Regions from separate parts of the Homo sapiens genome. Here region 1 is linked to region 2. Evidence: promoter capture Hi-C in human tissues and cell types (Jung and others, 2019). All regions are on one chromosome and are shown on one strand. The core of a region is centred on a gene start or on the middle of the fragment in contact, and the rest is flanking DNA. Distances in the headings are between cores, read along the strand shown.

Evidence for each region. The method cuts DNA at HindIII sites, captures the fragments that hold promoters and counts their contacts. A contact is called where the count stands out against the background at its distance.
Region 1: a contact is called between a fragment that was not itself captured here and the fragment with the promoter of PRRG3 in region 2, in 2 of the 25 tissues and cell types used here (liver and mesendoderm cells).

The regions. Positions count from the first base shown.
Region 1 is chrX:151,503,529-151,508,029 of GRCh38, forward strand. No RefSeq gene overlaps it. Among named protein-coding and RNA genes, the nearest start is that of PASD1, 58 kb to the right of the region's middle. The HindIII fragment of the contact is 4,683 bases long and covers 454-4,501 here.
Region 2 is chrX:151,693,850-151,698,072 of GRCh38, forward strand. PRRG3 (proline rich and Gla domain 3) reads left to right here and starts at 1,609. Exons shown (of 4, transcript NM_001372163.1): 1 at 1,609-1,695. The HindIII fragment of the contact is 8,484 bases long and covers 1-2,377 here.

The DNA of each region.
Region 1 (4,501 bases), core at 1,545-4,044, 190 kb before region 2:
TTGCAGCCTCAACCTCCAGGGCTCAGGTGATCCTCCCACCTCAGCCACCCTGAGTAGCTAGGACTACAAGCGTGCACTATTATGCCTGGCTAATTTTTGTATTTTTGTAGAGATGGGGTTTCAGCCATGGTGCCCAGGCTGGTCTCGGACTCCTGGGCTCAAGCAATCCACCCACCTCAGTCTCCCACAGTGCCAGGATTATAAAGGTAAGCCAACGCACCTAGCTTTCCTCACATTTCTATGTCTTTTTTTTCTACTTTCTTTGTGGACTCCTCTATGTCCATCCAATAAATATTTTTCTAGGACCTACTAGGTGCAAAGTTACATACTAAGTGTTGAGGTAGCAATAGTAAGTAGGAGCCAGTGCCTGCCCTCAGAGTGCACAGCCTAGTGATCTCTTCCCTGGCCTTCCCTTTAAATGTTGGTATCCCCAGGCTTCTGCCTACTGCTCTTCCTGGTTTTTGTACACTGTCCTGTTGGAGCCTAGTCAAATAATTCTCCATGCTTACCCGCAGACTTCTCTTTAGTCTTTGATCAAGTGACTTGTATTTATCCATGGAAGACTTGAACCTATGTTCAAGTGGCAGCCCAAGAAGCAGAATAGATGCATTTTAGCCCTGGCTCTGCCATTCAGTGGTTGTGTGACTTCAGTATGTCCCTTGCTCCCTCTCTGGGCTTTGAGGTCCCATCTATACAAAAAGAGGATAGTATCAGGCAATGTCTTTTTAAGACAGACTGTGATTCTGTTTCCTCAGGCTCTTCTCCAGATTTTTCTTCAGCTTGTTGTTACCCTCAAATTCTGTAAACTTCACGCCACCAATCATATCTCAGAGGTTGAAGGGCACTTACAACTACAAAGTTATGTCCCAGATTTTGGGCCTCTGGCCCAGTGTCTAATCTATTAACCAATGGTCTGTTAACCGGATTATTCTTTAAGGAAGATGTTGAGGCTCCTTCCTTTCTACTACATCGATGAGCGTACCTTGAACCCCTGATGCCAGCCAACCTGAAACATGTCTGCCTCTTCCTGCCTACCTGCCGCCTAAACCCATTCTGTTCCAGAGCTATACAGGTGTACATTGGGAAGGCAGCCCCATTCATCGTCAAGGCTGATATGTCTGCTTCTCCCAGATTACAATCTGTGTCAAAATTAGCTATCCTGCCAAGGGGAAGCTTTTAGCCACCTGGATAGAGATATCTTTGGCCACTTGCTGCTCTGTCCATGTGGTATTTAGCTTTTGTAACATCAGTTTTAATGCTCTACAAGCCATGTCTGCCTTTTCAGTTGGGATCCCAACCAACGAAGAACTCCTCTTTTTTGGGGGGGGGGTGGGGGGATGATTATAAAGATTTATTTGCTATAGCATTTTTTTCCATTTTTAAATTCTTTTTTTTTTATTATTATACTTTAAGTTCTAGGGTACGTGTGCACAATGTGCAGGTTTGTTACATATGTATACATGTGCCATGTTGGTGTGCTGCACCCATTAACTCGTCATTTACATTAGGTATTTCTCCTAATGCTATCCCTCCCCCAGCCTCCCACCCCACGACAGGCCCCAATGTGTGATATTCCCTGCCCTGTGTCCAAGTGTTCTCATTGTTCAATTACCACCTATGAGTGAGAACACGCGGTGTTTGGTTTTCTGTCCTTGCGATAGTTTGCTCAGAATTCCAGAACATTTTCTAACAAAGCCTTAAGATTTCCATTTTTGCAGACATCCAGCTGACTTTGTCCAGGGTTTGAAGTTACCACCTCTAACAGGCTCCGCCCTCAATCCCTGGAGGGTAAAAATAAGGTGATTATTTTCTCATACAGGGATGAAGAAATTGGACTCATCTATTCAAGTGCTTTGGGTTCCCAACTGTGTACCACATTATCAACACTTCTCAAGGGCATCAATTGGAAAGTACCTGCAATGCCGCCCTGTTACAAATGTATTCAGACCTTTCAGTGGAGCAATGCAAGCTAATGAATACATTAACTCCCTCCTCATCAAGTTGTGCTTATTTATTCTGCTGCATTAAGCTCAGACATCAGAGAACAGACTGTCTGAACCTTGTTATCTTCCCAACTGGCAGAAATGCCTCCACCTCCCTCTTTCTGGAGGGTATAGTCCATTCTCCCAGGCTTGATGGTGCCATGAGCAGAAGCAGAGTTGCCATTCATTTGAGGCAGCACTTGCTGAAGTCATAGTACACTCTCATGCAGGTCCCAAGTGAAGACTTCTCAGTTTAATTGAGTTTCAGGACTCATTGGCCTTGGCTGCTGATCAGTCAGCTTTTGCTTTAATTTTTTTTGTTGCCAGAAAACAACCACCACAAAAACCAGTAAATTTCCCTTTGTGCCTTAGCTTCCAGAAAGCTGCCAGCCAAGGTCAATGCCCCATGCAACTCTCTAACACTCTGTCTCCACAGTAGGGAACACGCTCTGCCTTTCTTAGCCTTAATTGCCCCACTGGGCACTGTGTTTTGGCCTCTAGGTGGCCCCAGAGCATCTAAGATGAATGAGAAGAGGCTGAATAATAAATTCATAGGCATTCATAAGGTCTTCAGGAGTCTAGGTCCTACTCAAGTACATTCAAAGCAAGCTTAAAAGGGGTTGTTCCCCAGCTTTCGTGATCTGGCTTCTGTTCACCCTGCAGGCTCATTTTTCTCCAACTTCCCCTTCACTTGCGCCACTTCAGCCACATAAGTCTCGTCTTTTTCCTGTAATACTCCAAGTTCTTTCCTATCCCAGGGCCTTCACTCATGCTGTTCCATTTGCTACCCCACCACCCTCAACCAACATTTGGTAACTCCTACTCCATCCATTAAGAGTAGGAGTTGAATATGATTTAATCAGAGATGATTTAATCTTCTCTGACCTTCCCAAACTGGATGAAGTCCCCCTTCTTATTCTGTTTCATAGAACCCTATACTCTTCTTTGATAGCAACTATCAAAATTTATCATTATTTTTGTAATTTTCTGTTCATTGGATCTCTCCTCTACCAGGCTATAAGCTCTAGGAAGTCAGCAACCATGTTTAGCTTTGTTCTCTGCTGGATTTCTAGTGCCTGGAACATACTAAAGGCTCAATATACACATAGTGAGTGAATGAACAAGTGAATGACTACCCTGGAGGACAGGCAGAAATGTTACTCTTGAAGGTAGACAACTCAAGAGAAACTATTTGAATTTACCACTACATTAGCCAGGCACCTGAGGTGGTCAGGGCTCTTGCAGTTCCATTTCAGTCAGAAGACAGATCATAGGAAACAGTCCCCATTTGAGCTCTGGCACAGAGGCCTGAAATCTAGATTTTTCTTTGAGCTCTTCTACTTACTGGTTTTGTGATCCTAATCAAGCTTTTTGCCTTCTGGGACCTCAGTCTCCTTCTATGACAATACTAATTCTTGTCCTGCTGTGTTAGTCAGGGTTCTCTAGAGGGACTAGAGGGTTCTCTAGTCAGGGTTCTCTCTCTCTCTCTCTCTCTCTCTCTCTCTCTCTCTCTCTATATATATATATATATATATATATATATATATATACACACACACACACACACACACACACACACACACACACACACACACACATATATATACAGGAGTTTATTAAGTATTAACTTCCACGATCACAAGGTTCCACAATAGGCTGTCTGCAAGTTGAAGAGCAAGGGGCGCCACTCTGAGTCCCAAAACTGAAGAACTTGGAGTCCAATATTCGAGGGCTGGAAGCATCTAGCACAGGAGAAAGATGTAGGCTGGGAGAGGCTAGGCCAGTTTCTCCTTTTCATGTTTTTCTGCCTGCATTATATTCGCTGGCAGCTGATTAGATTGTGCCCATCAGATTAAGTGTGGATCTGCCTTCCCCAGCCCACTGACTCAAATGTTAATCTCTTTTGGCAACACCCTCACAGACACATCCAGGATCAATAATTTGTATCCTTCAATCCAATCAAGTTGACACTCAGTATTAACCAAACACCTGCTTACCACACAATACTGATGTAATAAATAAGACAAGATATATCCTGTAGCACTTTGTCAGCAGTGAAGCACTGTACATTTGTGAAGAATGGCTGCCACTATTGATGTCTCACCTCAATTGTCATTGCTATTGCCAGCAAAGGTTTCCTCAAGGCTCCCCCAGATCAAGGCATTGTATAATGCTCTAGGACTCTGGAGTGAGCTGTTTGCTTCTTGTGGAGCTAAAAGAGGTATCCTTTGAGAAAACACATGTATCAGCCCAACTCAGCTGTCTGCAGTAGATTACAGGGTTTTTCTTTCCTGAAAAGTTAAATCAGAGCAGCTCAATAGAAAATGGGACATTTTGAGGCCACAGCTAACTGTTGCAATAGCAGTGTGCTTATAAAGAACCCAGGGACGTCCCAGATGGAGTGACAGCTCACCCTTCATATGCAGAAAGTTTGCAGTGGTCAAATTCCAAGGATGCATCATGTCACAAGAAGAGTAAGTGTTCATTTGCAAAACAGAACAGAGCCTCAAGGAGACATC
Region 2 (4,223 bases), core at 359-2,858:
GGAAGATTCCTGCAGCCGTGAAATAGCAAGCAAGCTAGGGAAGAACTCTAACAGGAGGCAGAAATGGAAGGGAAAGCACCATGCGGGGAGAGAAGTGTAGAGGCAGGCATCGGGGGAGCTAGGGGAGCCAGGCCCTGGGGGTTGGAGGGGAGGCGGCCGGTGGCAATGAAGGCCTTCGCCCACCCCTCTTCCGCCCCCTGGCAAGGCAGGTTGCTAATACCCGCCCTGGGATAGGGGTGGGAGTGGTTCTGGAACCGCCTTCTGAGACTCATTCCCATCAAAAGCAACACTTGGGGTGGAGGGAGGAAGAGGACGCCAACCCCAGTGCCTGGCCGGGTTCTAGATGTGCAGAGAACAAAAAGGAACCCTAAAAACCCAGCATCCCCTTCTCCGAGGGAGGCTTTCCTAGACCCAGAACCTCAGCCCACCCGGAACCCCTTTGCCCCTCTCTTAGCAGTGGACCTGTCATGTGGTTCCTCCTGGACTAGTGTAATCTCTGCTATGCGTCTTGTCCTGCCATGCTGAACTTCTCACAGTGCGGCCTCCGAAGGAGCCCCCATCTAGCGCTCCTTGCAGTCGCAGAAGATTCCTTCTCCCCTTACTGAGCCTTAGAGTTTTCCAAACCCATTTCCTCCTTCAAATCGCTGCAGCCTCGCGAGGGAGGCAGAATTCTCCCCATTTCTCGGACTTTGCAGGAGAGAAGCCTGCCTTCCCGGGGCAGGGTGGGGGTAGGTAAGTGAAGAAGCCAAGGTCACCCAGTCATTGGCGGAACGCGGCCTCGACTCGGTCCTTCTTCTGAGGGCCCTGTGGATCCCTGGCAAGGCAGGCCTAGGTTGCAGGCTAGCCCCCCTCTCTTTTCGTTGGCCCCAGGAGCCCGGCGGGCCTGAATGGCAGGTGAGCCCGGGGGGTGGGGACAGGACGCGGGTTGGGCTGCGCAGGGACGCCTGGCGCGCGGGCCTTGGGAGCGGCCGCCGGAGCTCCCTGCTACGCCGTATCTTCCGAGGGCCCACGCCTTGGGTCACGACTGGACCAGGGCTTTGACCAAGGGTCCTCTGTGTGCCCCAGGCCCGCCAGTCAGGCCCCGCCCCCCGGCGGCACGGGCGGGGGCAGGGGCGGCGCCGGCAGAGTGGGGCGCGGGCGCGCGGTGCTCGGTGCGCGCCGCCGCCCCTCCGGCCCGGCTTGCCCGCCCGCTCTCCCAACCCCCTCGGCCCACTCCGTCGCCCCCACCCCTCCTTCCTCCACTCGGCCAGGCGGCCGGCGGCCCGGTGCGCGGGGCAGCGCGACGATTGCGGCCTGGCGATCGGGGCACTGCGGTCGTGGCGCGCGAGGCGCGGGGCGCGAGGCCAGCCCTGGAACGGCGGGGTGTGGGGGGCGGGCAGCTGCGGAGCCCCCAGAGGAAAGCAGGGGCAGGCAGGGGGGTGCCGAGGTAATGGGCCGGGCCTGGGCGCCCGGCTGCGAGGGGCGGGGGTTCCAGGCGCACTTCGGCCCTGGAGGGGCGGGCGACAGGGTGCCCGGGGCGGTGGGAGGGCAGCGGGGAGGGGAGGAAGGGAGGGAGGAGACGGCTGGGCCGGACCGGGGGGCTTGGCCGACGGGGAGCAGGTGGGCGGGGACAGGGCCCCTGCTGGAAGAGGCGCAGCAGCGAGGTGGCGGGCTGCGTGCGCAAACAGGGCGGCCGCCTTCTGGGCCCGGAGAACGGTGAGGCCATTTGGGTTGGGTGTCCCAGTCCCGAGGGCACGGTTCGGTATCCAGGGCCAACGAGCTGGGTGCAGGGCATTGTTGAGGAGGGAAGATCTAGAGGCCTGTCCGGGCCAAGGGGATGGGGCGTATTGAACAGCTCCGGGAGAAGAGTGTTGCTGGGTCAGGGCGCTGGTGTCCAGCGAAGGTGGGCGAGGACAGGCACTTTCAGGGCTGGCCTGAGTGGAAAGGGACAAGGGGGCCCCAGAGTTTGAGTTTGAGCATAATTTGGGAGTTGTCGTGTCACTGGGTGGGTCGATGAGTCATGCGATTTGGAGAACCCTTTCCTGGCGATCAGTTCTGAGGGATGGAAATAAAGTCTAGGGTTTGGAGAAGTGGTTTGGAGGCCATGTCTTGGGACACCAGGTGCTCTGGTGGTCACCAGGCTTCATGTGAGGGACTTTGGGAGTTGTGTCCCAGAGGCCTGAGATTCAGAAGCTTCAGTCTGGGGTGGAGTTAAGCAAGGTCTTTGTGGTGGCCAGTTCCCTGCCTTCCTTCCTTTCCAGGCTGTCAGGATTCAGCTGTGTTCCTGCGGGGAGTGGGTTAAAAATTCCTTCCGCCTACAGTCAGCTTTACAGTATCCACCAGGGGCATGGGGGACATATACATGTGTGGCTGCAGCATCATTCTTTGTCGTGGAGCCCTCACGATTGCTTCCTTATTGTTGCCATAGTAACTGTCTACTGATGGTGTATTTATAGGGGAAGAAGCAGGCGCTACATTTTGGGGAGGGAGGGGGAAGAGGCCTCGTGGCAGGCAGCAGCAGCAGTGAAGGTGGCTACAGAATTGCTAATGGAGTGGGCCATGCCATGGGAACTGTTTTGGGGGTGTTCCTGGCTCGACTGAAGCTTAAAAATGAACTGGTGACTTTAGCAGGTGCGTCAGGATAACATGTATTCGGGTCTATGATAGGTGTGACATATAGCCACCTTTGACCAAGGCTAGGTGTGTGGGGGACAAAAGATGGATATATGTAATCTATTATGTAAATTTTTCTCCATTTTTTTAAAAAACCACTGCAGTTTCCTTTGATAAGCATATTTTTCTCTCTTCCCTTATTAAGACTATATGCATTCTTCTCAAACCCAGATACAACAGCTCCATTTTTCTTCAAGCAAAAAATCCTTGCCATGAGGCATACTATATCCACACCCTCACCACATAAAGCTCAGGTATCCATAATGCAAGCAGAATTTTGAGATCATATTCCATCTTGGTTCTGACAAACATTGAGGGCCAACTGTCTCACAAGGCAGGCCATCTGTTGACAAATTCACATGTTGATAGTTTTGAGGGAGATTGTTGCAGGGTTCAAAAGAGAAAGCCCCTTGATGTGGCGTTTCCACAAATAGATGTCAGATCTGCTGTTTTACCTTTAATTTTCTTTTCTTTCTTTTCTCTCTTTCTCTCTTTCTTTCTCTCTTTCTTTCTTTCTTCCTTCCTTCCTCCCTCCCCTTCCCTTCTCCTTCTTTCCTTCCTCCTTCCCTTCCCTTCTCCTTCCTTCCTTCCTTCCTCCCTCCCTCCCTTCCTTCCTCCCTCCCTCCCTCTCTCCCTCCCTCTCTCCCTCTCTCCCTCTCTTTCTCTCTTTCTCTCTTTCTTTCTTTCTGGCTTTGTAACCCAGGCTGGAGTGCAGTGGCGCAATCTCAGCTCACTTCAATCTCCGCCTCTCTGGTTCAAGCGATTCCCCTGTCTCAGCCTCCAGAGTAGCTGGGACTACAGGCATGCACCGCAGCATGCCTAACTAATTTTTGTATTTGTAGTAGAGATGGGGTTTCACCATTTTTTGGTCAAGCCAGTCCCAAACTCCTGACCTGAGGTGATCCGCCCGCCTCAGCCTCCCAAAGTGTTGGGATTATAGGCATGAGCCACCGCGACCAGCCTAAATTATTGATTTATATCCTACCTGTTTGCCAAAAGGATTAGGTGGCATATTATAAATGCACAATAGGACACTGGAAACATAAATAGAAAGCTGTATACCACATCGCAGGACAGAAGCATATGTGCTTAACAGCTGGGCTTCCAGGGTGCCTGTGCTTGACTGGCAATAGTGACGCTGAACTTCCTGGCAGCCTAGGCAAAAAGGAGGGCTCAATGGATTCCACAGTTCACGTGTCTTGCATCCAGTTAGTCATCAAACCAGAGCTTCTGCTTGGGGAGGGGAGCAGTGGGGTGATTGCTCCCAGATGTGGACAGCTCAGCAAGGGCTCTAGAATGTGTGTATGAGTGGGCGTGTGTATTGTGGGGAGGGACAGAGGGAGCAGTGTGCTGTGACCATGGTTTAAGTACTGGCTGGATAGCTCCTTAGCAGGAGAAAGGCTTTCTGACAATAGCTCACATTAGGGGCAACTCTTGTAGTTAGCGTCTCAGTGTCGGGCATCTAAATTCATGTCTTGGCACTCTACTGCCATGGGCTTTAATGCAAAGAGAGAAGAGAGGCCTGGTTCCAGAAGATTCCAGGTATCTTGCCTCTTTGTCTGGTGAAGATG